5 separate regions of the Homo sapiens genome follow, and all the other regions are linked to region 4. The links are contacts of gene promoters, found by promoter capture Hi-C in human tissues and cell types (Jung and others, 2019). All regions are on one chromosome and are shown on one strand. Each heading gives the region's core, a stretch centred on a gene start or on the middle of the fragment in contact. The rest is flanking DNA. Distances are from core to core; before and after follow the strand shown.

What was found. The method cuts DNA at HindIII sites, captures the fragments that hold promoters and counts their contacts. A contact is called where the count stands out against the background at its distance.
Region 1: a contact is called between a fragment that was not itself captured here and the fragment with the promoter of PALMD in region 4, in 1 of the 25 tissues and cell types used here (aorta).
Region 2: a fragment that was not itself captured here is called in contact with the fragment with the promoter of PALMD in region 4 in 1 of the 25 tissues and cell types used here (IMR-90 fibroblasts).
Region 3: a contact is called between a fragment that was not itself captured here and the fragment with the promoter of PALMD in region 4, in 1 of the 25 tissues and cell types used here (heart right ventricle).
Region 5: a contact is called between a fragment that was not itself captured here and the fragment with the promoter of PALMD in region 4, in 2 of the 25 tissues and cell types used here (liver and neural progenitor cells).

Annotation. Positions count from the first base shown.
Region 1 is chr1:99,432,559-99,438,544 of GRCh38, reverse strand. It overlaps LOC107985093 (a long non-coding RNA gene), which reads left to right and starts at 1,255. Exons shown (of 3, transcript XR_001738163.2): 1 at 1,255-1,371. The HindIII fragment of the contact is 3,033 bases long and covers 517-3,549 here.
Region 2 is chr1:99,452,213-99,457,495 of GRCh38, reverse strand. No RefSeq gene overlaps it. Among named protein-coding and RNA genes, the nearest start is that of LINC01708, 33 kb to the left of the region's middle. The HindIII fragment of the contact is 5,453 bases long and covers 1-5,283 here.
Region 3 is chr1:99,472,662-99,477,948 of GRCh38, reverse strand. The region is part of intron 2 of LINC01708 (long intergenic non-protein coding RNA 1708); the gene reads left to right. Among named protein-coding and RNA genes, the nearest start is that of LINC01708, 12 kb to the left of the region's middle. The HindIII fragment of the contact is 7,447 bases long and covers 1-5,287 here.
Region 4 is chr1:99,642,540-99,648,195 of GRCh38, reverse strand. PALMD (palmdelphin) reads right to left here and starts at 2,083. Exons shown (of 8, transcript NM_017734.5): 1 at 1,834-2,083. The coding sequence starts at 1,878. The HindIII fragment of the contact is 22,760 bases long and covers 1-5,656 here.
Region 5 is chr1:99,488,589-99,494,705 of GRCh38, reverse strand. No RefSeq gene overlaps it. Among named protein-coding and RNA genes, the nearest start is that of LINC01708, 3.8 kb to the right of the region's middle. The HindIII fragment of the contact is 5,033 bases long and covers 1-4,480 here.

The DNA of each region.
Region 1 (5,986 bases), core at 784-3,283, 210 kb after region 4:
AGTCTTTTGCATTTCTGTTTAAATTTTAGAATTAGTTTGTCAATTTCCATGAAAAAAATTGCAAGATTTTGATTGGGATTTCATTGAATTTATGTGTATAGTTGAGGAGAAGTGACACCTTAACAATACTGAATCTTCCAATCCATAAACTTGGTATATTTCCTGATATATTCAGATTTTCTTTAACTTTCCTCAGTGAGGTTTGTAGCTTTCAGTTTAGAGTTCTTGTATAGATTTTGCTCAATTGATCTCTAAATATTTAAAGGTTTTGATGCTACTGAAAATAATGTTGTTTTTAAAAATTTTAGTTTCTAATTGTTCATTGCTAGTATATAGAAATTAATTTTTAAATGTTGATTTTGTGACTTGTGAAAGTTATTTAGTAATTATAATAATTTGTTGGAGACCCTTTGGATTTTTAGTGTACAAAATATCTGTAAATAATAATAGATTTTCTTCTTCCTTTTCAATTATTATTTGTTTATTTCTTTTTATTGCCTTAGTAGTTTGGCTAGGATTTCTGGTAGAATGTTATATAGTAATGGTGAGAATGGACATCTTTATAGATGGAAAGCATTTATATTTCAACATAGTACAATGTTAAATGTACATATATATTATATACACATATGTTATAGATTATTTATCATTGACATTCTTACCAAATTTAGAAAGTTTCTTTCTATTTGTAGTTTGTTCAGAGAATTTTATTATGAGTGGGGTTTATTTATCAAGTATATTCTCTGTATCTATTAAGTTGATTATATGCTTTTTCCTCCTTATTCTATTAAATTTAATATAAATAATGTCAACAAAAATCCTTTGCTTTTAAAATGTTAATCCAGTCTTGAATCCTTGGAATAAACTCCATCTATTGTTATGGATTGTGTTATTCAAAGAACTTGTCCATTTTCATAAAATTATTGAATTTATTGACAAATTTCTTCATAATATCCCCTTATCAGCTTTTTAATGTCTGTGGGATCTATAGCCAAGTCCCTATTTTCATTTCTGCTATTAGAAATTATATTTTCTCTCTTTTTTCTTTGACCAATCTTGCCAGGGTTTATTAGGTTTTTCAAGAAACTCATCTTTGGCGTTGCTTTTTTTTCCTTTTATATGTTAATTCTCTATTTTATTTATTTTGGCTCTTATGATATTATTTCTTTTCATTTAATATTCTGTTCTTTTATTAGCTTATTGTGAAGAATACTTAGTTCATTAATTTTAATACTTTTTTTGTTTTGAGATGGAGTCACGCTCTGTGGCTCAAACTGGAGTGCAATGGTGTGATCTTGGCTCACTGCAACCTCCGCCTTCTGGGTTCAAGTGATTCTCTTCCCTCAGCCTCCCGAGTAGCTGGTATTTCAGGTACATGCCACCACACCCGGCTAATTTTTAATACTTTTATTTTTTTCTATTCATTTAGCCTATAAACATCTTTTCAAGTATAACTTTAGCTGCATTTTACAATAGTATTTTAATTTGCATTTAGTTCAAAATAGTTTCTACTTTCTATTTTAATATTTCTTTGATTGTGAGTTATGTAGAAATATATTGCTTGATATCCAAAAACACGGTTTAGTTGTCACTTTGAAACTCTCTAATTTTATTTATGCTCTGTTATATTTTTGACAACTGTTTCAATATTTGTTACATAAATATCTTAAATATTATACTATTGACAAAAAGAATCAGCACTCAAAGTCATTAGTCTATATTTTGTTCATGATGCGTTCATTCCACATTTATTGAGCATGTGCTAGATACAAGTACTGTGCATGCTAGTGACTACGTGAGGGATTCAAAGGAAATGTATGGACCCTGCCCTTGCCCTAGAGGAACTCACAACCTACTGAAGTGACAATCCCAGGAAAGGCAGTGTTCATTGGTTCTCGTTAGCTTTGTTCTTTTCCACTATAGCCACCAAATTAAAACGTTAATGATAAAACCTCACAAGCTTTGAGTGAAGTGAAAATTCTCATGTACAACTAAATGTTGAGTGCCTTATGGTTGGTCTATAATTCTCACAGATAATACCGTAGAAGGGATAAGCTTAAACGTGCAAGAATTTTTTTTTCTGTAACTGAAACTTATTTGTATTTGAAGCCCCCATTTAGCTGCAGTGACAAAAATCTTATCAATGGGAGGCCTCTCCATCAGAAAGTCAGAAACACTGACTGAAGCAGAGTCATCAGTGGGCTGCAGATTCTCCAAGGCTCCTCTGCACAGCCTCTGCCCTGGAAGTAGTGGGAGGGCATTCCCAAACAGTCTCTCCTTCCCCTGGAGTGGGGAAGGAGGGTACATGAGTCTCATTCTAATTCCTCCTCTCTTAGTCTTGATTTTGTTTTTCTTTTTTGCCTTAGATGACGACACTCCTTCTAGCCCAGGATTTTTGCTTCAGAGGCACCTGCCACAACTCATTTTTGCAGATGAAGAGTTTGAGGCTTCAGGTTAGGTGACTGGTTTTTGAAAACCACAGGGAGAAGGAGCACAGCAAGAACGTGGCCCATAGTAAATGTCTAACAAACATTTAGCTGTCAGTCCCAGTGCTCCCCAGCTGGTGTTATTTTTCTTATGTGAGCAGGTTAATTCAGAGTATTATTTCAGGGAACAAATACTTGAATACCTGTATGTCCAAGGTGCCAGGGTTACAGGGAATTAGCTAGATAAAGTCTCTGGCCTTACTGGGCTTCCATTACATAGAAGGGCAAGTAAGAGACAATAGATTAAAAAAAAAAAAAAAGAAAGAAAAGAGAAAAACAAGGTAATTTCAACCACAACTGGTGCCATATTTAAGGTAACCTATGTCATCCTCCATGCCAGAACACTTTCCCTCTAGGGTGCCCCAGGACTCTCTTTGGCCTCTGCCATTGGACATCACAGGAAGCAACTATGGTAGCTGGCTCTTCCCTCTCTTCTTGCAAAACCTGACATGCCATTTATTTCTTTGTCTGACATACCTTTCTTTTCTCTTGTCCTGGAACCATTTACCAGGCACAGGCTCCAGCACCCCACCCAGCAGCCTCTAATTACTTTCTGTTATCAATTTCCTACTTGATTTCTGATGTTGAAAGAACATACTATATAATTTTCATTTTTAGAAATGTGGTTTGTTTTATGGCCAGCATATGGCTTATTTTGGTAAATATTCCTTGTAAACTTGAGAAGAATGTGTATTTTGAAGTAGTTAGGTATTTTTTATGTATAATGTATAACAGTGAGGGTGCTTTTGTACTTAGTGGTGTTCAAATATTTGCAAATACCTCCACTGATTATTTTTCTTCTATCATTTTCTTTTTTTTTTTTTTTTTTGAGATGGAGTCTCACTCTGTCGCCCAGGCTGGAGTGCAGTAGCGCAATCTTGGCTCACTGCAACCTCTGTCTCCTAGGTTCAAGTGATTCTCCTGCCTCAGTCTCCTGGGTAGCTGTTATTACAGGCGCGTGCCGCCAAGCTCAGCTAATTTTTGAATTTTTAATAGAGATGAGATTTCACCATGTTGGCCAGGCTGGTCTTGAACTCCTGACCTCAAGTGATCCACCCACCTCGGCCTCCCAAAGTGCTGCAATTACAGGCATGAGCCACCACCCTTGGCCTCCTCTATCATTTTCTAAGTTGAGTTAAATCCAAATATTTTCTTGGATTTTCATATTTCTCCTCTTAGTTTTTCCAATTTTGGCTCTATTTTTAGTGCATGTTATTAAGAGCATACACACATAGAACTGCCATACCTTTCTGTTGAATTATTAGTCTACTGTATCTGGTATCAGTTTGCTATATCACATTTCTTTTACTGAGTTTTATGTGAAGTGTGTGTGTGTATAATATTCTTTTAATGTTTCCTGTGTCCTCATTTTAAAAGCGTGTCTCTTGTAAGATAACCAAACTATAGATATACACACACACACACACACACACACACACACACACGATTTTCTTGGTATTTTTTCCACTTAATAAATAAAAGGAAAAGTTTCTTGAGGAAGGCACTCTACTGAATTTTTTTTTTTTTGAGATGGAATGTTGCTCTGTCGCCCAGGCTGGAGTGCAGTGGCACAATCTTGGCTCACTACAAGCTCCATCTCCCGGGTTCATGCCATTCTCCTGCCTCAGCCTCCCAAGTAGCTGGGACTACAGGTGCCAGCCACCATGCCCAGCTAATTTTTTGTATTTTTAGTAGAGACGAGGTTTCACTGTGTTAGCCAGGATGGTCTCGATCTCCTGACCTCGTGATCCGCCTGCCTCGGCCTCCCAAAGTGCTGGGATTACGCGTGTGAGCCACCACTCCCGGCCCACTCTACTGATTTTTAAAATAATCCATGTGGCTTCCTATCACCTACTTAACTGCCCTGTACTCTTAGCCACCATGCTGACCCTGCCAGTTTGGGAAGTGTAGGTGGGACAGGAAGGGCTGGGGAAGAATCTGAAGATGGAAATGGAAAAAAAGATAACAGGTGAAGAGAGGATGGAAGGAAAGGGTGCCATTAGGTTTTTAAAAGAATTTTTACCTCTACACTCTCTCCTGTCCTTTTGCAACTTCAGTTACATGTATTTGGCCTTTTTGTGAATTCTTTACATTTCTTACCCTCTCCATTATTTTTCCATCTTTTTTGTTTCACACTCCCTCTCGGTTTGTTCTTCTGAACTGTTTTGTAGTTCACTAATTTTCTCTTCTGTTATGTGTAATTTATTATTAAGCCCATTCATTGGATTCTTAATTTTATTACTGTATTTCCAGTTTTCTCCAAAGCCATATCATCTTCCAAAGTACAGATCTTCTCCTTCTTTACTTTAGGCTTTTCTTGATGTTGATTTTCATGTAGCTCACCCAAGGGACATTCATAGCAATAGCATAGACCTTAAAAGACAATACATAACCAATACTTAACAGAAAAATATTTTATATCTCAATTCTGTAGGGGTTTCTTTTCTTAATTAAGAAGATGACTATGCCTAAATGGTGTCAGAATATCAGAGCAGGTTGTCCAATTTGGTCAAATTTACTTAGGAACAAAAAAAGAAAAACGTCAAAGGATTTAAGCTTTTCTGTTTAGTGAATATTAATACTTTCTAAGTCTTCTGTAGCTATCACATTATTTTCTCCTTGGGCATAGATAGATACTAATTGCTTTATTTGTACAAAGTTTCATTTTCTAACTTTTACAAGAAATGCTTCTACTCTGAGTCCTCCCACCGTCCAAAGGCCTGAAAGTTCAAGCAGATGTTGATTCTCTGGTATTAATGACCTCTTTAAAGGTGTGTGTCTGACTGAAGCTGGGCCAAGCAGAGCTCTTTCCTGGGATTTTATAATTTTGGATTGGAGAGATAGGCTACAGGCTCCCTTTGATAATAGATATTGGAAACTCTGGCACTGATGGATGGAAATGCGCCCTATCCTGAAGAAGAAGCTAGTTCTTAGCAGATGCTAATGAAACCAAGAAACAGAAACAGAAGAGTCACTTGAGGGCTCTCCATCAGCCCTTTGGTTATCAGAGTTAAAAAATTCCTCTTTGCCTAATTCGGATTTTTGTCAGACGCAGCCAAAAGAGTTCTGACTAAGGTGTCCTCTTTGTATTGCTGAGGTCTGAAAATTACGGGGTGGATTTTATAGTTTGATCACTATGGCTTAATCCAAAGGTATTTACAAATTTCAAAGGCATTTTTAAATTTCATATCTATTCCTACAATAGAAGCAGCTTGGTATATTGAGGGAATACCATTGACGAGGTTTGAAGACCCAGAAAACTACTTTTTCTCTCAGAACCTCCAATTTCTCACCTATGAAATGGGGATGAATACTTTCCTATGACACAATGTGTGGCAAGGATTAATTGAATTAATACAACTGAAGAAATCCTGAAAGAAAAGCAAGGCGAATATTATCTCAATTTGTGTGAAGAGAAAACTCAGCTTCAGAGAATTCAGTCAATCAAATGTCCACAGTACTGTGCACATTGTCGGCACCGGCCTTAGTTGTACATTATG
Region 2 (5,283 bases), core at 1,455-3,954, 190 kb after region 4:
AGACTTGGGAACAGCTCATCCTGTCTCTACTGTAACCTCCACTGCAACTGGATTGTGTTTTCCTGAATGTAGTAATGGATTGAGGTCACTGACATGTTCTAGCACCAAAGACTACTTAATCATCAAAAAGCTTATATTCCCAGGCACCTCAAGAGGGGTCTGGGAGTGGTATTAAGGGTAGAGCTTCTGGCTATCCTAAGCTGGTTATGTGAGCCAGGTGCTCTGATATGGGACACCATCATCACCACAATTGTGGACCTGTGTGCCCCAGTTCTTACAACTGGGATTAAAGCCTCAATCCCACTACCCCAGTTACAGTTATTGTAATCACCTTGTCTCTTATTTTCCTCCAACCTGGGACTGAGGCATAGTGTTTTTCCAGGCAGTTCCCTCTTCAAAGGACAAAAATCTTGCCAGCGACCCCCACAAAATTGCTTAGGACCCTGTGTACAAGGACTGATACTACCTATCACTTGTAGACTGCCGCTTGAAATTCACCATCTCTTTGAGACCTCGTGGTCACAGACAATCTGCTTTAAATCTAGTTGGAGATGAGTCTATCTCGTAGGCACTATTTTGTATCCAGCCTGCTGAAATTGCAATGTTTTTTTGAAACTTCCCTCCCACTCTCCTGGTCAGAAGGTCCGGTTTGTGTCAGGCTAAATCCGGATGGGTGCTATATGGGTGAATGCACTGTCTGGGAAACTAGAGCACGGAAGAATGAAGTGGTGTCCTGGAATGTTGTCAAAGGTTGGTTACTTGGGCATCAATCCAAGGGCTTTAATGGAGAATCAGACCCAACAGATGGAAGCAAAATGGGAGCCAGGGAATCAGGGAATGGTGGTAATAGGACTAGTGGAACTGCCAAATGAGAGACAACTAGGAGGAATTGTGGAAGGGTTGGTGAGCAGACGGGCACTGCAGATTTATCCTGGGATGGCTCAGACTCATGAGGCATGTGGAATTTAGTTAAAGGGGATGTAATGAAATGACCACTGACCTGACCTAATAGGCATATCTATTGCCATATCCTGCACTTTTGTGGCAAATAGTCCTACTGTGAGGGAAGAGCAACATCTCCCCAGTAATTATAAAATTGTGATTCAAATATTCTCTTTGTAACCTGCCAATACTCTGATATTTGTTTCATCTAAATAGAGTTCTGTTATTGACCTTTACCTATGCTTATTTCAAATCTTTAGGGAATACCTATTTAGATGAATTTTTCCTCTAAGGCTAGATTCTGAGTAATTACTTAATGATCATGCAACTAACATGAGAAATACTCTAAAATAATAATTCTCATGTTAGAAAAAAAGAAATCGAGACTGCCTTAGGCAAGAACCCCTAATATTTCATGGTTTTACTTTCTGATGTTATGAATAACCATGGAAATTTTTGCTTGAATATTTTCCATGTTTGGAAAAGGAGTTTCCAACTTCTTAGGAGGTAAAGTAGCACCTCTGCTTCATAGCCATTAGACTTTGGGGGAGGTATTTGTTGATAAGAAAATTTTTTACTGAAAGATCATATATCTTGTGGCAACCTCTGTTCAGCTGGAAATATTACAAGGGTGTGTCCCTGGGGTGTGTGTTTGTGGGGGAGAAAGTTTGGCTGAAGGCTTTTCCCCAGCGAGCCATCATTTCAGGGACTAATCTCTACCACTTCGGAGAGAATATTCTGCTTATGTGGTCCCTGTTATTTTGAAAAAATGCCTCCGGGAGTCTCTGCTGCACCAGAGGAAGGAAGCTCTGATACGACACCTTCATTTATTGTTTCGAACTTTGCTAAAAAGTACCAAAGCACGGCTGGGCGCGTTGGCTCACGCCTGTAACCCCAGCACTTTGGTAGGCTGAGGCGGGCAGATCACGAGGTCAGGAGTTTGAGATCAGCCTGGCTAACATGGTGAAACCTGGTCTCTGCTAAAGATAACAAAAAATTAGCTGAGTGTGGTGGTGCGTGCCTGTAATCCCAGCTACTCAGGAGGCTGAGGCAGGAGAATTGCTTGAACCCAGGAGGCAGAGGTTGCAGTGAGTCGAGATTACGCCACTGCACTCCAGCCTGGGTGACAGGGCGAGACTCTGTCCCAAACAAACAACAAAAACAACAACAACAACAACAACAACAAAAATTACCAAAGCACAGCTTTTCAAAGCTCTCTCATTCAGGAACCCATTTCATTGAAATTAAAAAATGTTCTGAGATGCAGTTAATGTGTGTTTGCCCTTGTAGGACCAACATAAATCTAAGTCTTTTATGTGAAGAGATTCAGGTCCTTATAACTCACTTGGGGAATATGACAAATGGGATGGTGTGTGTGAATGTTGTTTTGATGGCTTAAGGGTGATGATCATATCTGGACACTTCTGAGAACTGTTGTTATGGCTCAATACCTTGCCTCCCTTCCTGTCATTTTTATCTATTTTTATAAACAAATAAAATAATTATTAAGAAAAAGGAACTTAATGAAACCTTTCGTCTTAAAATACATTATCCCATAACTAAGAGTTAATAGAATGAATCTAATCAGTCAGTTTGAAAGAGAGCTAACATCCCCTATAAAGATTATGCTATTGGACACTTACATGGTGTTTACTTTGAGACTGGTGCTGGTTTGAGCACTTTACATATGTTTACTCATCTAATTTTTATAACAGTCATTGAAGTAGTTGCTCTTATTATTCTAATTTCACAGATGAGGGAACTGAGGCTTGGAGGAGTTAAGCAAGGTTGGTGGTTGCACACACACAGCTGACACCAACTCACGGAGTCTTACTCTATAACCCTTTTAGGCAGTGTTAGAGGAACAAAATTGTTATTTGATCACAATGAGCTCAGGCCTTGATACAGTTTTCTGGTTTGTGTAAATCAACTCTGCATTTTCTCTGCACATTTAAAGTCAGACGATCAACCTTGGACAGGTTGTCTGTTAAAAGCCACACCAATGGGAATCATTAAAACAAATGACATTTAGGAGGATTACATTTACTGACTAAATATGCTTGGGCCTTAATAGCGCCAGTTTTGTTTAGTTCCCATCAACTTCTTGATCACGTGGATGTGCTTTTGTCAACCATTTTTGCACTTATTTTCCTCAGTGACTCTGATGACCTCTTCTCTTCGTTAATCAGCTTCTCATATTCTCATGACCTTACCAGAGTGCTGATGCTTGCAGCTGCAATAACAGAATGTGCTTCTAAATTATAATTCTCCCAACCCTGGACTCTGAATCTTCTCTTTTTCCTGTCAACAGTTGGTCCCCTCTACAAAGGCCCTGCTGTTTATTCTTCACTGGCACATGCCCTCTGCCACCTGAAATCTGTTGCTGGCCTTCTCACACTCTCTTTTCTTCTTTTAACTTCAAGGTCTTTCTAATTTGTCCTTTCTGCCTGTCCTTTGTTATTACTTATCACATCTCTCCTGGTCACCTTCACCCCTTCTTTGTTTGGGCCTCCTTCTTTATTTCTGGGTATCTCTTTCTTTCTATCAGACTCTGACCTTCTTCATGTATTATATTTAAGAACTAATCTTCCACCTTTTCTTTTGTTAAAGTAATTCTTAACCTTTTTTTAAAATCCCATTCACTAAAATAAGCTCATGAGTATTAATGTTTACATTAGGCCTTCCCTTCTCTGTCCCTTCTCTTCAAAATACCCAGCCTACTTAGAAGGGAGACATTTCCAATATAATAAAAACAATAGCTAACATTATCTGTGCCAGATGTAGAAGTCCACAATAGTCTTTACGACTTTGTCACAAGCATCATTATTATCTTCACATTACAGATGAGAAAGCTGAGGACCAGAGAGGGAAAGTAACTTCCTCAAGTCACACAAGATAGTTAAGTGGTGGAGCTAGGTTCTGAATGTGGATATGGTGATTCCAAAGTCTGTGATCTTAACCCCTGCACTTTACTGCTCTTTAAAGAGAGTAATCTGACTACATAGCCTCTGTCATTTCATTGCAATAAATATTTGAGTCTCTGCATCACTTAAGTAGATTGATCAGTATTGCCAAGTATGGAATTCTCTGCTTCTAAAAAATGAAGAGGCCTCTCAGCCAGTTTAGTTTATGATAGTTTATGTGCAATATAGTAACTTGTCCTTTATTTTGAAGGAAATGTCCCAATGTGCCTGAGACCAGTGAACTCCAAAGAACTTCATGGGTATAGCAGGCTCTAATATCCTTATAATGTTTATTTCCCTCACTCTGGGGAGTATGTTTCTTATTAAGACATCTAGAGTACTTGCCACTTTTTACTCATTGGGTCCAATTTACATGATGTCATCAATAGAGTATATTCATGTGATTTTCTGCAGAGTGTACAGATTGTTCATGCCCCTTCATATTGTGATAGAGGACATAGTTCTGCCTCAATAACGTTAATATTTACTTTATTTACTTGTCCACATCAAGTGAATGCAAAGTGCTTCTGATCTCCTTTCCTAATGGATATTGACTAGAACACATTTACTAAATCAATAGGCACGTGTGACATCCCTGGGACTTCATTCACATGCTTTAGTAAAAACACCAGATCTGGTACAGAAGCTGTAACTGGGACTAGTGCTGGTTATGTTTGTGTTAGTCCACTGTCATCTATCAGGATCCACCTGGTTTTTCCAAAAGCCAAACTAATGAATTAAATGTGTATAAACAGGGACCACCATTTCTCAGTCCTTTAAGCCTTTAACTATGGCAGTAGCCCATTCTCCTCAGATTTTTTTTGTATTCACTACCTCAACTAAATGGCTTCTGATATCAAACACTCAGAGAGTCTCTCTGTATTTTAATGGAAAATTGCTTAAGTATTAAATTAATATTTAAAGACTGAGCAAAAGATGTGATATTAATCCATTCTTTAAACAAATTGTTTTTCTATACCTATTAAAGCCTAGTGAAGAATTTTAAGAATTAACCATACTTAGAGGTGAGAGATCAATGAAAAACATAAGAAGATATAAAGAGAGATCAGGCAAATGAAAATATGGTGAAGAGCTTTAAAAGTCAAGAGGAAGTCTGCAAGCAGCATCCAGGAGTTGCTGGAGGGCCTTGATAAGGAAATATATTACCATTACTACTACGATTATAGTAATGTTTAACATTAATGAGCGCTTATTATGGGCTAGGCACTTTATTTACATTTTCTCAATCTTTACTTAATCCGATAAATTGAATTCCATTGCAGATCTCATTTTACAGCCAAGAATACTGAAGTTAAGAAATGTTAAGTAACTTACTCTAATTTAAATCTGGTTACTGGTGCTAATGTGGTTCAAATGC
Region 3 (5,287 bases), core at 722-3,221, 170 kb after region 4:
ATAGTGTAGTTTGAAGTCAAGTAGTGTGATGTCTCTGGCTTTGTACATTTTGCTTAGGATTGCTTTGGCTATTGGGGCTTTTTTTTTTGGTTCCATATAGATTTTAGAATAGTTTTTTCTAATTCTATCAGGAATGACATTGGTAATTTGATAAGAATAGTGTTAAATCACTAAATCTCTCTCCAGTGTTGTTTTGTGCAGTATTACCATTTTAATGACATTGATGAGCATGGAATGCTTTTCCATTTATTTGTATCATCTCTGATTTCTTTCAGCAGTGTTTTGTAGTTCTCCTTATAGAGATCTTTCACTTCCTTGGTTAGCTGTATTCCTAGGTATTTCATTTTCTTTGTGGTTATTGTAAATGTGATCATGTTTTTGATTTGACTTTGAACCTGGACATTATTGGTGTATAGATATGTTACATAGATTTTGTACTCTGAAATTGTACTAAAATAATTTACCAGTTCATGTAGCCTTTTGGCAGAATCTTTGGGGTTTTCTAGATATAGAATAATACCATCAATGAAGAGAGATAGTTGACTTTTTCTTTTCCTATTGAATGCCTTTTATTTCTTTCTCTTGCCGATTGCTCTGGCTAGAACTTCCTGTCTCATTTGTTGATACATTAAGGAAAATGTAACTAAATGTTCAGAGAAAAGTAATAGCGTATATTAGCAAATTCCTTAGATTTTGTCTCTTCCAGAGCTGTCAAACAGAACTTTTGCCATGATGACAATATTCTGTATTTGTTTTATCCAATATAATAGCCACTGGCCACACATGGCCACAGGGCACTTGAAATGTGGCTAGTACAATGGAGGAACTGAATTTTTAAATATTACTTAAAATAAATAATTAAAATTTATATTTAAATAGCCACATGTGTCTAGTGGCTACTGTATTAGAGTGCACATCTAGAAGAATATATACTTAATTAAAACTAAAATAATTTTAGAAGTAAAATTAAAAAAAATTAGAATTATAATTTTTGAGATGAGCCATTGATAATGTCAACAAGTAAGACATCAGACTGAAAACAGAAAAAGAAACTGAAGAATTGTAGTATGGGAATTTTAAAAAGCAGCAAGCTTAGCACTTACCATGTGTTAGACCCTATGCTAGACCCATTCACATTTATCATCTCAGTGAATGCTCATAACAACTCTGCAAGTAAATATTTTATCTCCACTTTATAGGCAAGAAGTCAGATATTACAATTTCCTCAGTGAAAAAACTTAAACCCATCTGGTTTCAAAATCCAGACTGTAAAATTTGAGTGAGCAGAAGAAAAATATCCAGATACAATTATGAATGTGCATCTTATGAAGTGAGGTCAGGCCTGGAATGAGTGTCACATCCAAATATTGCTCACGAATTTCTTAAAGTCCTCATTGCTGAGTCTAGGCTTGGTTTCTGATGATGTAACAGTCCTGAAGCTAAAGGTGGGGTCAGGTGGTCCAAATTGGGTAGAAGAAGGTGAGGCTGGGGACCAGCCAACTGAAAGAGAGCACTGATGTTCTGGGTGACCATCGCTCTTGTAGAACATTGCCTCTCAGGTACCTGAGCAACAATTGCTAGCCTTGCTGTTTCCATTAGAGGTGCTGACTTATGACAGCATTCTCAGCTATAATTTTATGGTTGAGTACTTTGACGTTATTTTTCTCTCCAATAATGCTCTGTGACCTGATTTTCTCCTCATTTGTCAGATAGCTTATGTGATGTGGCTTTCACTTGGTAACTGCAATTCAGGGGCATTTCCCTGCAATAATGTGTCAAGAAACAGCTTCTATAACACCAGAAATCATGCTTCCTTATGTTGAGGAGAGTGGAGATGTGCCTCCGTGTGTTGACTGTGTCATTCAATCTAATGCTTCTGGATGCATATGTCTCGCTGAGCACCTAAATAACTTGTATTCTATATCCTTAGAATAAAAGGATATCAGCATTTTTTCCTGCTGGTCTTTGGAGTTTGTGCCGCAAAAGAATGATACTTCGCTACCTCAACTATTAAATGAAGGAGTCTGCTTAAAGAAGGCTGAATATCTTGGTTTAAGAACTTAGCTTTCCCAATGATTGAAATGAATTAGATAGGAATGATGGCCTGGGTATCTATCTTGGGCAAGTCTTGTGTCTTGCTATCCTGGGATTCTTTTACAACTAGAAATACAACACCAGAATTCTTTGATAAAGATTCAAATTCTGAGATGAAGCAACCTGATCCAGGCAGTTTAGGAATGGGGCTAAGGCTCATTTAAAATGGGGCCATGAGCGGTCAGAAGTATCTGTGAAAGCCAAATATGAGTCTGTTGCAAGATGGAGAATACTTTAACAGATTAACGGTCCATGGAATTAGTGGTCTAGGAGGCAGCATCCTAGCCAGGAATAGGATATGAAAAGGATTTCTGAAGTGCAGATAAAATGGTCCCTCAATCTTCAGGGCCAAAGCAGGAGGGGAGCTGGAGAAGGAACACAGAATCAGAAACAAGATTGTTACAAGGTGGTTAGGGAGCAAATTGCTTCAATTGCAGCCCGCTTACATTTGAGCAAATGTGCTTCCTGGAGCCAGGGGCTTGTTCTTAAAAGAGCCAGTTCCATAGGACAGGTAACTTGCTGAAGTCCAGATCGACTTCAGCGCCGGGAGGTATAAATACATTTTGCAAAATCCAAATATTCAAGTTGAAAGAGAGCCCAGTTCCTAGGAAGCGGTGTTTTTTATTTGATATTCTTAAGTATCAACCATATATTAGACAATATGTAGCCTTAGAGAGTCGCATGAAATTTCTGTAAGCACAGCACAATTGCTGGATGTCTCCTGCAAAAATAAGAAGAAATCCAGCCGAAAACCTTTTTCTCTTCCTCTTTCCCCTTTATAAAGAAGGCTAATAGATCTCTCATTTTTCAAAATGTACCTCAGCTTTGGAATGGAGAAGTGGAAATGTTTTTTCTATTCGAAAGGAAGGTTATCTAAACACTGTAGTGTGTGATTCTATTAGAGCTTGCTTGATTTAAACTCTGAGTGTACCTAAAACTCTCAATTCTACTTCACATGTGGTAAAAGGTCAAATACAGTCTTGTTCTACCTTGCAATCAATCATTTACACTCCCTGTCCACCTTATAGGGGAAGACAGACTATTATTAGCCTGTGGAAAAGGCATACTGGGATTCATGTCATATGGAGAGAATATTTATTTTTCTCTTATTTTGCCAAGCCGATGGTGGTGGTGTCTGCAGTACACAGCTGACATGGAGCTAAAGCTAGATGTGGTCATATGATAGGCAGGACAAAAAGCAGAAAGGCTGCTCTTCTGCTGGCCATAAATATCAGGTCAGATTTCTCTTTCTCCTTCTCTATAAAATTCTCTATTCATTTATGCAGGCCTGTCAACACATGCAAAGACATGTAAAACACATTAATAGGATTGTGAGTTAATTCAAATCCAGTCATTCTTTCAATATACATATATGTTGGGCACATTATATGAGCTAGTTCTGCCCACATGAATTGTCTCTAGACATTCATTTGTTTTTTTTTTCCTGCTGTATTTTTCTGTTCCTTCTTAGTTTAAGCAGATAACTTTTGTTTTTTGCTTCAAAGACGTTTGCAGAATGGAAAGTAGAAACTTTTTGAAAGCAACCTTTCTGCTTTTCCAAAAGACTGTACTCACTGCAAATGGAGAAGCAAGAATAGGAGTGTCATCTTCAGGGTCACCAAGGAAGGTTGGAGAGGCTTCAGACTGGGGTGGGGGCAGAGGCTGCTGGGCCCACAAGTAGAATAGCCCTGCCCTGTTTCCTTGGCAGCATCTTTGGGCAATGGCAAACTAGAAGTACATCCAGAGAGGCTGCTCTCAAGCCATGGAATTCCCACTCCCAGTGAACATTCCCAGACCCCAAGCATAGTACAGAGCTGATAGGTGCTAGAAAAGACCATATGAGAATGGAAAATGGGCTTCTCTGAAGTAACCAGTGAGAACCACGAACAGGATGGACCTCTGTAGTGCAGTGCTTTAGGACAGAATAAGACATACCACTCAGATTTTTCATGGCACTAAGCAAATGGGAGAGGTAGAGCCCAGTAATCACTGGGATTAAAACTCTCTCCAGATTGGTGGGATTTAGATTTAAACTGATTAAGCAGGGATTAGATTTAAGTTAATTTAGAAAAAAACCCAACAACATGACAGTGCCTTATTTCTTACACATCTGGATTGGTGGATTAAGTTTACCTGCTGTCATTATAGCAAGGAACACAAATATTAAACAAGTTATTACCATTGTGAATTGACCTATGAAGGAATAATTGTGGATACTTTGGAAGCAGAGCTGTGGGGCCTAATTAAAAGTATATTTATGGTTAGGATGGATGGGGAGGAAATTATTCCCTGAATGAATAACATTTTAGCTGTTATCTATAGGATAAATTAAAGTTAGTTAGCTTAGTTAAAATTAAAGGGTGATCCAGGCAATGAACAATGTGTGGAAATGTCCTGAGGTGGATAAGAGCTTAGGCCAATCAGTGTGGCCAAAGACATGAAAGTGAGGGGATAAATGGCTGGTGCAGAGGCAAAGAGGAGACAGGGTTCAGGTCACGCCGGGCCTACCAGCTCACATTAAACAATGATCATAAGTGATGGAGAAAACCATAAAAGAATTTTAAGTAGGGAGTGAAATAAAAGATTTGAGATTTCCTAAGATTAACTTTGCTTGCAGGTTAGAGAATAAATTAGACAAGTGACAAAGAGGATTGGGAGGACCAGCTAGTAGGTCTTATGATTTTAACTGAACAAGCTTGTGGCAGGAAGGATGGTGAGAAGTTTATAATGAAGAGATTTTGGACAATTGCATCAGTGGACCCTGATGACTAATGTTGTGGTGAGGAATGTGAGATAGAGAGGGAAAAGTGAGGACGATTTATAAACCTCTAGCGTAAGAAATAAGATAGACGAAACGAAATTATGGATCAAGAAAAACTAGTTGAAAAACATATTTTGGGTTTGGTTTGGACCACAATGAGCTTGATCTGCTTGGGAGATATTTAAGCTTTTACATGCATGTTGTAAGATCTATACTATTGGACATAATAATAATTCATTTTTATACTAAAGGTACTTGTAATGAATACTGTGATACTAATAATTTAAAGGTGGATGATTTTATTTCATTAGATATATTAAAAAGACATTTTAAAAAGGAATTAAAATGGACATGAACTGGTATTTTTGACAAAGTTAACAACTTTGACCTAGAAACTGGCCAAAGGTAAATGTTGACATAAATAAAATTTCT
Region 4 (5,656 bases), core at 834-3,333:
TCCCTACAACCTTTATACAAGTATATTACTTCCAAGCTAGAATTACTTTGTGATCTTACTTGGGAGATTTGTTTAATCCTTTCTAATGGGATATATTTAGGCTGATGGAATAATCCAAAAATTTTTTTAATCATCAAAAAAGCATACATCTGCATATTCAGGAAGCTACTTACTCTCTTGATGGCTTTTAAGACATTATGAGGATTTTCTGTCTCTATTTGCGTTTGGAACCTTCAGTGACTAAGATTCCTAGCCTTAGAAATAACTGTATACAGCCATATCTTTGGAACATGTGTGGCTTTGGTAAGAGTTATAAGGTACACTGGAGGGAAAAAGGGCTTGAGCGAGGGTGTCCCCCAACTGAAAGAGGCAAATTCAGAACAAGGGTCTACTTGTCTATTTCAATTAGCTAATTAGGAGATATAAGCATTAGAAATAGTGGAGCCTGTGACCACACAACTCACGCAGTCTAATAAAGTAACCTTTAGACAACAGCTGTAATGTAAAAGGCCCATGCCAAAAACAACAGAGCAGAGCCGAGTTCCTGTCCCTTAAAGCAGGACAGCTGAGATGGTGGCTGAGTTTAATGACAAAAAAGGACAAAACAAAACAAACAATAATCCCGACCAAGGTTTTCTGAAGAGAGGAAAATGTAATAATTAGAAGCTAGACATTTAACAAAGCATTGTTTTATGGAAAAGTGCCAACCTTATCAATAGACTTCTGGTGTCTTACTATTGGCTAAGAAGACATTTCAATTTACTGAATGTTTCCTGGGTGAAACTAAGATATTGTATCAATTAGTAAAAAATCTAAATTAGGATTAGCATAATTAGTTATGCAATGAAAATTTTAAGAACAACAACAAAAAATCCCTGATCTAGCATCAGTTTTTAAAAAGTACTCATTTTTTTCCTATACCTAATGTCAGTGGCAGAAAATGCTGAGAAATTGGGATATTGCTTTCCAAAGATCTTTTTCTTCTTAAAACAATTACATCAAAAGTTATAGCTAGGGATAAATGATTGTGACACAGATTTCCAAGTTACTGCCAAATACAGGGTTTTATAAAATTAAAAAGAAAGCTGGATCATTTAAGAAAAGTAATTTATTTCTGGCTTTGACTTTTTCCCGGAACAAACATAAAAAATGTACGATTTTCCTTCTCGGTATTAACAAAATATTTTCCAAATCCACTGCATGCACTGCATTCCTTTATCAGGATCTTATTCAGTTTGTGACTCTGCTGGAAACTGATATCTTAGAATTAATCTGATACGTGCTTTTACCTAGTTTTCTCTTGTTTAATGCTTAAATTACGTATATTAACATTCATTTTAATTATTTTAGGCTTTCTGGAACATGCTACCACACTACAAATATAAAGTTTCAGGTCATTTTTAAAATTTCTTTTTCTCTCTTTAAAAAAAATTCTAACTTTTTGAGGCATTCATAGCTTAAAAAAGTTTCCAAGTTGGGGATCTGTTTTTTTATCTAATGCCAGTCAAATGGACATTTAAGGAAAAACTGCATTTCTAAGGTACACCACAGAGTGTGAAAGATAGTTAATCAGACTGCCTTAACAGCTTTTGATTGTTGTTTAAAATGCAGGCACAGCCTTTTTGAAAATCAAGAACGTTTGCCCTGCACTCAGGTTCTGAAGCCCCAGAGTTACAGAGGGTCATGAGGGTTAAGAGAGAAACAGAGACTCGTCCATGAAGGCTGACAGTTCTGTTTTTCCACTTGCGAGGGCTCAGCGACAGGGGCAGCCGGCCACGGTCTGCCTTCCTCTAAGTAACAACGTTAATGAGTTATAACTGTATGCAGACTTACTGTGATGGCCTGGAGTCTTCCCTTCACCAGCTCAGCTTCTTCCATTCTAGAAGTCAAGGACAGTCAGACGGGGAAGCAAGTCCAAAGCTACCATAAATCAAGGAGCCTCCTGGGGGAGAGGAGCGGGGGTGACAGAAGAGAAGCAGGGAGAAATCCGCTCTTTGCACCAGTGGAGAAATAGAGAAATTCCCGACTTGTCAGGAGCGTCTCCGAGCAGATGCACAGATCAGGCCAGACAGACACATGTAATGAGGGTGTGCTGGGGAGGCAGACGCTGAGGCTGCTGGCATGAGTTGACTGACAAGTTTGAACGGCAGCGGCACAAGCCCTTTTCCTTCAGGAGCTGCCAGCTCTTTGTTGTAATGTGCACAGTTAGCAAGGCACATTTTCTTATTAACTGTTCCTTACCCAATTCATTATTTTCCAGGAGTGGCACAGAGAGCCAACACACTGAGTGTTTAATCAGCCTCTGCTCTAGCAACACACAGCCATCCCCGGATGTGTTGGTCTGTGTGTGTTTGTACAAAGCTCGTTTACCTGCTTGCTAGCTCTAGGGGAGAGAGCCTTACCTTGACTGAGGCAGAAGTGCCAAGTCACTTGTTTGCCTTTCTTCCACTGATTGGATTTGATAATAATACAACAATCTATAGCTACTTTAAACTTCATGTAGTGGTAAATTTACATTGGTTCGTTCTCCCCCGTCTACACCCCACCCCCGACCCCCCTGCTCAGCACTTTGTTGCAAACTTTGGAATCTTTAGGTCATGGAGAAATCAAAGGTGTTAATGTGACTATATTAAGAAGTTGGCCCACCAAGGTATTTAGTGTGGCTTAAGCACCAAGTGCCACCTTTTGTTATTGCTTGACTTGGATTTCTATGGAATGCAGTTTTCTTTCTTGGACGCTGTTCAGAAATGACACTCTTGGCTTTCAGGAAGGTGCCCATTTTGACCTCACCGGTTACGCAAGAGAGAGGAGTGAGCCTTTGAAAATGTGATGAGACATTTGGTAACTGCCTGGAGCCCGGCACTGTGTGAATATTCGCCCATCCTTTAGAAAAAGGCAGGCAAGCCCAGTGAGACTCTTAGGTCAAAGCAGAGGCTGGGAAGCTGTACAATTGGCTCTGTCTGTTTTCTTTTCCCTACAGGTTCTTTAATTAAATTTTGCTGAAGTAAATCCTAATTACCAACTACCTTATTATTATGTGTTTGAATGCTATTAAGCGCTTTCATATCAACATTCAGCTGAAGAGGTTAAAAGGACAACCCAAACATTGAACATATGGTTTAATTTCCTTTGCAGTTTTGATATTAGTAATAATAATAGCTAATATTTGTTGCATTCTTTCTACAGGTAAATGCATACTTGCAAAGTGCTGAGAGATAAGTGCTATAATCCCTACTTTAAAAATGAGGGAACAGGCTCAGAGAGGTAATTTGCCATATAGCTAGTAAGTAGCAAAGCCAGGATTGGAACACCAGCTGCCTGACTTTATAAGTGGCATTCATCAAGGACTGCCCAAGGACACGGGGCAAGGAGAGGCACAGGCTGAAGGTTAAGTCAGTCTTTATGAGAAGTGGTTGGACCCCCAGCCTCCTTCTCTGTCTAGCTCCTAGAACACTACAGCTGGGTGTAACAGCCTAAGGCAGAACGGTGTGGGAATGTCCTCTGGAGAAACTTATTGGCCCTACTGAGGTTTCCCCACATTGTTGACTGGAGTTCCCCAACCACAGAGCCCTCATTCTGTCAGTCACTATAAGGTGAAACCCATGTTTTAAGAGTCTGAAATTATACTTGAGAGTAGTTTGTCCTTGCTCATACACCCTCAGAAGGGATACTTAGGGAGACCAGAGAATGGGAGGATTGTTTGGATGTGTGCCAAGTTTGATTACTGTTGGAAACATATTTAAGTGTAAAAAAAATCAAACCTTCAAGACTTCTGATTATGTTTATTTGTAGATCCTGGCTGAAATTAAAGACAAGAAAGCAGTAATGATAAATATCTCAGTCAGAATTGCATATTTGGTGCCTAGAACAAATGGGCAGTCATCCAATTATTAGTCTGGATCTTTTCCTAAAAACAATTTACCTCTCAAATCTCATTTCTGCTAGAGGAAAACCCAAGATTTTGCTAGTGTAGGGGAGGACAAGATTTAAAAAAAGAGGATGGGAATTTAGGAGGGAGCAGAGTTGCAACAACTGATTGGTATCATCATGTGAGTGGTAGGCAGAAAAGGCTGGAGCTGGGAAAATCTGGGGGACCTGAGTGGAATCCTGGAGCCAGAGCTCTGATGGTCTTGACAATCTCCCTTGGACTGCAATACAGATTAGGATGTTTCCACTCAACTTCGCCTCCCTTTCTCTTTCACCTGCCTCTTAGACATGTCCAGCTCCAGCCTTTTCTGCCTGTCCTCCCATGTTCTCTCATACAGTCATTTCTCCTAATAAAATTCTGTACATTTAACCCATCTTGGCATTTGTTTCTTATAGGATCCAGAATAACATCATCATTTCCACATCTACTGTATTTTGTTTACTTAATCTTTTATTGTCTACCAGAATGTAAGTTCCAGGAGAGGAGAAATTTTGTTCAGACACCTAACACAGTGCCTGACACATCAGAGGTTCTCAATAAATATGTGCAGAATGAATAACAAATGCTTAAAAAATTAACAAGTATTAGTATTGTCAACTAAATGAATGAATAAACACATGATGAGACACATCAGTTGTCAGCAACCAAAGTAGTCCAGTGTTTCTCAGGAATTTTAGCATTCTTGCCATGCTCAGTCACTGGCTGGGAGTAGCCCCTGGGAAGCATAGCCTTGAAGCAAACATAGGAATGGATTTCAGAGTGAAACAGCTTGGGACTCTTGGGTCAATTATGCTCCTGGAGTTCAATGTCTGAGAGGCACTTTCTCATCAGCCATAGTGATAAATGCTATGGAAAGAAAATAGAGCAGGGAGGAGAATAAAGATGGCTAAGGCAGGGAATGTTGCAATTTAGAATTGGGTCACTAAGGTAGCCTCAGTGAGAAGGCAATATTTGAGCAAGGTCTTGAAGAAGAGGTGAGAGTTCGTGATGAGGATATTTATGGGAAAAGCATATCAGGAAGGGCCTGTGCAAATGTCCTGTGGTGGGCCATACCTGCCATGTTTTATGAACAAGGCTAGTGTGGTTAGAGAGCTGGGACTAAGAGAGGGTTAACAGGAAATTTGGTTGGAAATGTAACAGGTCCCAATTCATGCAGGGTCCAGTAGGCCATTGTAAGGACTTTAGCTTTTAGTCTGTGTGGGATGAGAAGGCATTGAGGTGTTTTAAGCAGAGGAGTGTTTTGCAAGTGTGAAACAGGAAGACTAGATAGGATGTTATTACAGTAATCCAGATGAGAGATGATGGTGGCTTGTGTCAAGGTGGTAACAATGAGAGTGTTACCACCTTGGTTGTACCATGGTTGTACCATGGATAACTTTTGATTCTGTTGGTGGATTGGATATAGGGGTTTAAGAGAAAGAGAGGATTCATAATCACTCTTTGCCTGAGTGAATAGAAGTCGCCATCAATTGAGATAGTGAGGTTGATGAACTAGGTTTTTTTTTTTTTTTTCTTTTGAGGGAGAGGATGGATACCAAGTTTTGGAAAAGTCAATTGGTTCTCCACATGGAGATGTTGAGTAGGCAATTGGATATACGAATTTGGAGTTCAGGAAAGAAGTCTCAGGTGGATTTATAAAATTTATTGTAACTACGGAAGGATCACAAAACATCCAGAATTATAGTTCAAAAAGCAGTATATGTTAGCGAACTAGCTTCCATTAAATAT
Region 5 (6,117 bases), core at 715-3,214, 150 kb after region 4:
CTATGAAATGGAGATGTTCATAATGTTATATTTTATAAGTCTAAACAACATAATCTTATACTTCATAAAATTGCTATAGAGCTAGGATGAGCTAATAGGTTTGAAATAACTTTGTATACTATAAAATGCTATTAATTCATCAAATATTTATTAAGTACCATATATACCAGACCTTGTGCTAGACCCAAGGGAGGGATATAAAAAAAATTCTTGCTCTGTGATTGAGCTCACAACCGAGGGAAGTGACAGATGAAGGTAAAATCATAATATAGGATAAACAAAACTGCAGCATCACAGATGGTGTATCAGTTAATTCTGTCTAGCGGGTTCACAGAAGAGAAGATATTTAATGTGGGCTTGGAATGATAGGTAATATTTCACCAGAGGGAGAAGGCACAAGGGGCATTCCAGTCAGATATCTACTTATAGTCCATGTCAAGAGAGTCACTCCATTTTTGAAGAAATGATAAGTGGAAGGAAGATACCCAGAAAGCATATAAAGGTGATGTAATTGTTTCTTTTCTTTCTTCTACTTCTTTTTTTTTTCTTGGATTGAGAGAAGGCAAACTAAATTCATAAAACAAAGCAGCATCAAAGACAACTGAATCAGGACAAGAAATGGTGAAAGTGTAGCAGGGAAAACAATCTGTTACTTTATACATACCCTAACAAATGCATGAAAGTTTGAAACCTCAATGAAACCTCAAGGAAACCCCATGAATGAAAATAGGATGCTCCTCTTTCAACGATCAAGCAAGTGAACATATCAATTTGGAGATTACAAAACAATGAAAAGTGACTAACAGTATGTTTGTCAAAGATACATTCAAATGCATTTTACAAAACAACTTCAACAATAGTTCATGAACTAAGCAGGACAACGGGAGAATAAGCTGAGTTCTAGTCAGAATTATTACCAATACTTTGTGTCATAGGTGTCAGGGCCTGTTACTCCTTTATACCCCCTCCACTCTTTTGCTGAGTGAATATTCTGATTTTATTTTTGAGATAGAAATCTGTGCAAGAAAAAGTAGCAAAGCATTTTAAGGGTAAATGATTCAAAATCTCAGGCGGCAACATATGTGTGTATATGTGTATATACACACATACAAACTCATTTCTCACATTTGGAACTATTAAGTTAAAGATCAGACATATAATTTACATTACTGTTGAAGGTGAAAGGGGGTGCTATTTATAATTTTCACTGGGGAAACAGGTACAAACCTGGACTGTCCCAGGCAGAATTAGATGTATGGTGACCCTAGTTATAGGAACCACACAGACTTTGTTAAACAGGACAAAGCCAATGTTCTTTGTGCTCCTCTAAGGAGCTCCTGGAGCTTTTGGTCTTGACATATCAGAAATTTTGGTATAGGCATAATTTATAATGTAAGTGCTGAGTAGGGACCAGTATAATATTGTAGTTAAGAGCATTACTAGTTTCAAATCCTGGCTAATTAATTGTGTGACGTTGGGCAAGATACATCTATATGAGCAGCTACTCTGTGCCTTAGCTTCTTCATTTGTAAATTGAGAACAATAATTGGTTATAGTGAGAATTAAATGAGTTAATATATGGAAATTTCTTGTAGCAAGGTCTGGCTCACAGCATTATATATTATTATATATTGTCATTTTGTGTAATTATCCCCATTTTATAGATTTCAGAAGACACACACACAACCAAATGAAACAAATAAATTATATTTCAGGGTTTATCTGATGTCTTTTAGGTTCACTTTAGAATATTCAAGAAGATATCCAGGCATTAGCCTGAGCTGGAAACTTGGGTCTCCCACAGAAAGAACTATCTTCCCGGTTTTCTCTGGAAATGAGTGGAGGGAATGAAAAGGTACTATTAGCCCTTATTTTATTGGTTTGGTTTCAAGTCTCTGAGATGTCCAATGTTGATCAGACTTATGGTGGAGGTGCTACTCATATAGATGCATTTTCAAGGCAAGTGAGGTTTAAAAAATACTAAAAACATCTGGAACAACCACAGTGGGGTCCATATTTTTATGTTTACATTTAAATCTCCCATGCCCGGCTAAAACTTCTTCATCATTGTAAATAATAAAAATTACAGCTAACATTCTTGAACACTTACTAGGTGCCAGGCCCACCCCTAAGTGTTCATATGTGTTAACTCCTTTAATCCTTACAACACGTACTTGAGGTAAGTACTATTGTTATTACCATTTTGCAAATGAAGATACTGAGGGACAGAGAGTTTGAGGATTTATTTATCTCTGCATTTTGCCAGTGCCATACATACCAGGCACCTAATATTTACTGGATCAAATTTTGCATGCAGATTTATTAATATTTCCTAGCAGAGCTCATTTGCGTGGTTGATTTTTTTTTTCAGTAAAAAGAACTTTTGAGAATCTGTTTAGAGGAAAAACATTTACAGCTGCCTTGTTACCCTTGCCTATATTTGTCTGTGGTATTTTGATTTCTGCAAGACCATAAGAGTTAGTAATCACAAATAACATTTCAAATAACCTTTTAAGTACCATTTTAGGTAAGGATAGAAATATTAAATGAGATTTTCAGTTCTGGAAATCAGTCTGACAAACGAATATAGATTGCTTTTAATAAATCATTTATATTTGGCTTAAAAAGCATTATGGTGGATTTTTTTCTCTAATGATTTGATTCCTAATTATGTTTACCTCAGGACAATATCATAATTGCTTGTATTTTCCAAGCATACACCAGCTGATGAGAAGGGAGGAGGGACATTATTGGACAGTTCTGTAAATGCCAGTAGGCCAGTTTGGGGTTAATGGTGAATCTCTGACTCCTCCACGGAGTGGAAAATCTCTGCGGGAACATCCTTCAGTGGATTGCATGCCAGTGGTAAAATGCGTGAAGCACAGAGAGGAAGCCGAGCAGCGAAAGAGGCAGCAGGAAAGACATAAACAGCAGAGAACATGGGGAAGATAACACAGAGTAGCCATTAGAGGCGATTGGTCAGGGAGGCCAAATGAAGTTGGTAGTAAATTTTTATCCTCCTCAATAGGCTATTTTGCAATGGTACTTTGTATATTAAATGATTTGCTGAAAAAGCAGATACCACATTTTAATGTTCTGTGTCAGTTATAGAAAACTATAACAGGGGAAAAATAGTGTTCCCAAGGATAAGGTAATATCATTGTTTGTTTATTTGCTATATTTTAAATTTTAAAGGGCCAGACTCATGAAATGAATTACGGTTAGATTAAATGCTTTTCTAAATGCCAAAGTGATAATGGTCTATTTCTATTTCTTCCTCAGTTTGATAACAGAAATCTGAACATGACTATAATCTCATCAGACTTGTTTCTTTAATAAAAGATGTTACCCACAAGGATTCATTCATGCAACAAACACTTATTGAGCAGTAATCGTGGACATGTAAACAGTCTAGGAGAGAGAAACACTAAAAAACAATTATACAGATCACCCTAAAATTACAGTCATTTCAAATGCCACAAAGAAAAAGAAGAATTAGGATGTTTCTCAGAACGTGGTATAGAAGGACCTGATCTAGACAGGTGTGTGTTGGGAGAGGAAGGAGGGTAGAGAGAAAGTCTCCCTGAGTAAGTTATACTTAAGGAGACGAAGAATAGTGAGGAATTGGCAGAGTGAAGGCAGTGACGGGAAGAGTCAGGTGCACATGATTGATCTTACTCTATTCTTTATAGTAACTGGGTTTGTGTCTATGAAGTTAGTACAAAAGAAGCTTAGTTAACTATGTGTGGTGTGGCCAGGTGGAAGAATGCAATGGCAATATGAAAACATTACAAAATGACAATAGAGTACTGGATTGACACAATGTTTGTCTTCTAAAATACCCTCTTGTATCCTGGCAAGCAAAGACATGTGGTAGAATTATAGAAATAGAGGTGGATAGTTTGCCTACTTTTTGTCTTTGAAGTTGCCAGAAGAGGGATGAAGAGTCTGTGAATTCTGAAGAGGCAGAAGATAGCAATGAGGTAATGCTGATTGCTCTCCTTATGGTAGTGCAGTTACCACAAGCTAATGTGGACTTCTTGCTGGACAGACAGGGTAATCTATAAAACGCCTTCTAAGGATGCGGGTATAAAAAACTCAGATGGCAGACATATAAAAACCCACCTCTAAAGACATTCTGAGGGGAATTCAGTGCTGCTTTCAGAGCAAGGGTTTTACATCTACGTAATTTAAAACTACGTGTTATGGATAATTTTAGATATTTATTTTTATTTCAATATGAGGAAGAGGAAACTCAAATGACTTTTTCTGTGCTGATGCTGGATTCTGTATATAGCCTCAGAATGAGTCTGACATTAAAAGTAAAAATGAGTTAAATTCTCATGTCTTTTTTTTTTGGGAAAAAAAAACAACAACAAAAAAACAAACCCAAACCCCAAACTGTGTGGGAGGAAGAGGCAGTGCTCTGTCTGGGAGATTTGAGCGGAGAGCGTTCAGAATGCTCACAGCCCACATGATCACATGGTGCAAATTCTTGGGGAGGGAATTCTTTGGCAGCCTGACATATATAATTTTCCTCAGAGCAGAAGACTTTATGTTAAAGTTTTGAAATCACAATAAGATTTAAAGAATTGCTCTTTAATTAAGAAAATGGCTAGATATTTTCCTATAGTTTCCTTTCAGAAAATAGGTTTCTTAACAATTTAATGCAATGGTTGGAGTAATGACAGAAAAGCACAGACTCACCGCACACTCATTTAGGAACATGTGGGTTTGTTTAGGTGTGAATCCCAATTAGGAATATGCATTAAATTATTCTATTTTCATGCAATTAGGTGGATTAAATGATCAAATACCACAAGGATAGTTCTGTGAAAATCATGGCTAGATTGACAGTTCTCAAGTTCAGATATCTCCACTTGAAACTGAAGTAACCAAATATAATAGTTCCTCTGTCAACTCTTGATTATTAGTGTGTAAATTATGCATGGATGGTACATTGACTGCCAAGGGTCAATAGCAACACTTCATCAGGGAGCCCAGATGATTTGCGTTCTGCTGTGTGCCAGCTTGATGCTGAAGGAGATATGAAAAGTTTAATAATGGTCATAGTTCATATTTATTGAGCATTCCCTATATGTCAGGCAATATTCTAAGTGCTTTCATGTTTTCTCTCACTGACTCTTCAAAACAACTCTTTGAAATCTGTGTTATTCTTATCTCCATTTTACAAATTAGAGAAAAGGAAAGTTGCAAAAATCGGCCGAAGCTTGTAATTGCGCTCAGGCTAGCAAACCACAAATGTGCTTTGTGAGAAGGGAAAACATACTTTATGGATTCTTTTATTTTCAAGACATACCTAATTAAAAAATTTAGCCTAATTTGTCCACATTCAAGGGCTTTTGTTTTTCTTAGTGAAACAAAATTTAGTGCTACTAGAAACTAAACTTTATTGGTCAACACTTGTGGAGAAGTCCCAGGAGGTTACTTTGTTTTCTTGACTTGACATTGTGAGTTTGTAAGCAAATAATACTTTTTGTTTTTCCTTTCCTTATCTCCCAAGGTGAGAAATCACAAATAGATTTTTAAAATCCCTCATAGGTATATAGTATGCAGCAGCATGTCTCAAATGTATTCGGCAGTCAACTCCCTCCATCTTTTTGGGGAGAATTTTGTGCAGTAAATGTTTTCCAAAACACACTTTGGTAAATGCTATTGTGTGTTTACTATAAGCATATTTTGCCACCTTTTTGTCTCCCATTCACTAGAGTCTGCATATCATCTTTAAAGTTTTCATAATTTTGAATCCAATGGTCTCTTTTCAGATCATGACTTCCCAACAATTGACATTACAGACAATTTCTGACTCCTCTTGGAATGTTTTCCTTTCTGGGTTTCCAGAATACCATTTCTTTCTGCTCCTTTGTCTTCTCTTTTCAGTTTTCTTTATTAACTTGCCTTTATCTAAATCTTAGATGTTAGTGTACCCCAAGGTTCCATCCTTGACTGTCTTTCTTGTGTCTCAATGTTATATTCCAGTTGCTTCGTTAAACTGCCACACTCATTCTAAATTTATGATACCTTCCCCGACATCTTTAGAAATAATAGATTACTTTTCATTTTCTCTGCTAAATGCACTTTATTTTTCCCTTAGTG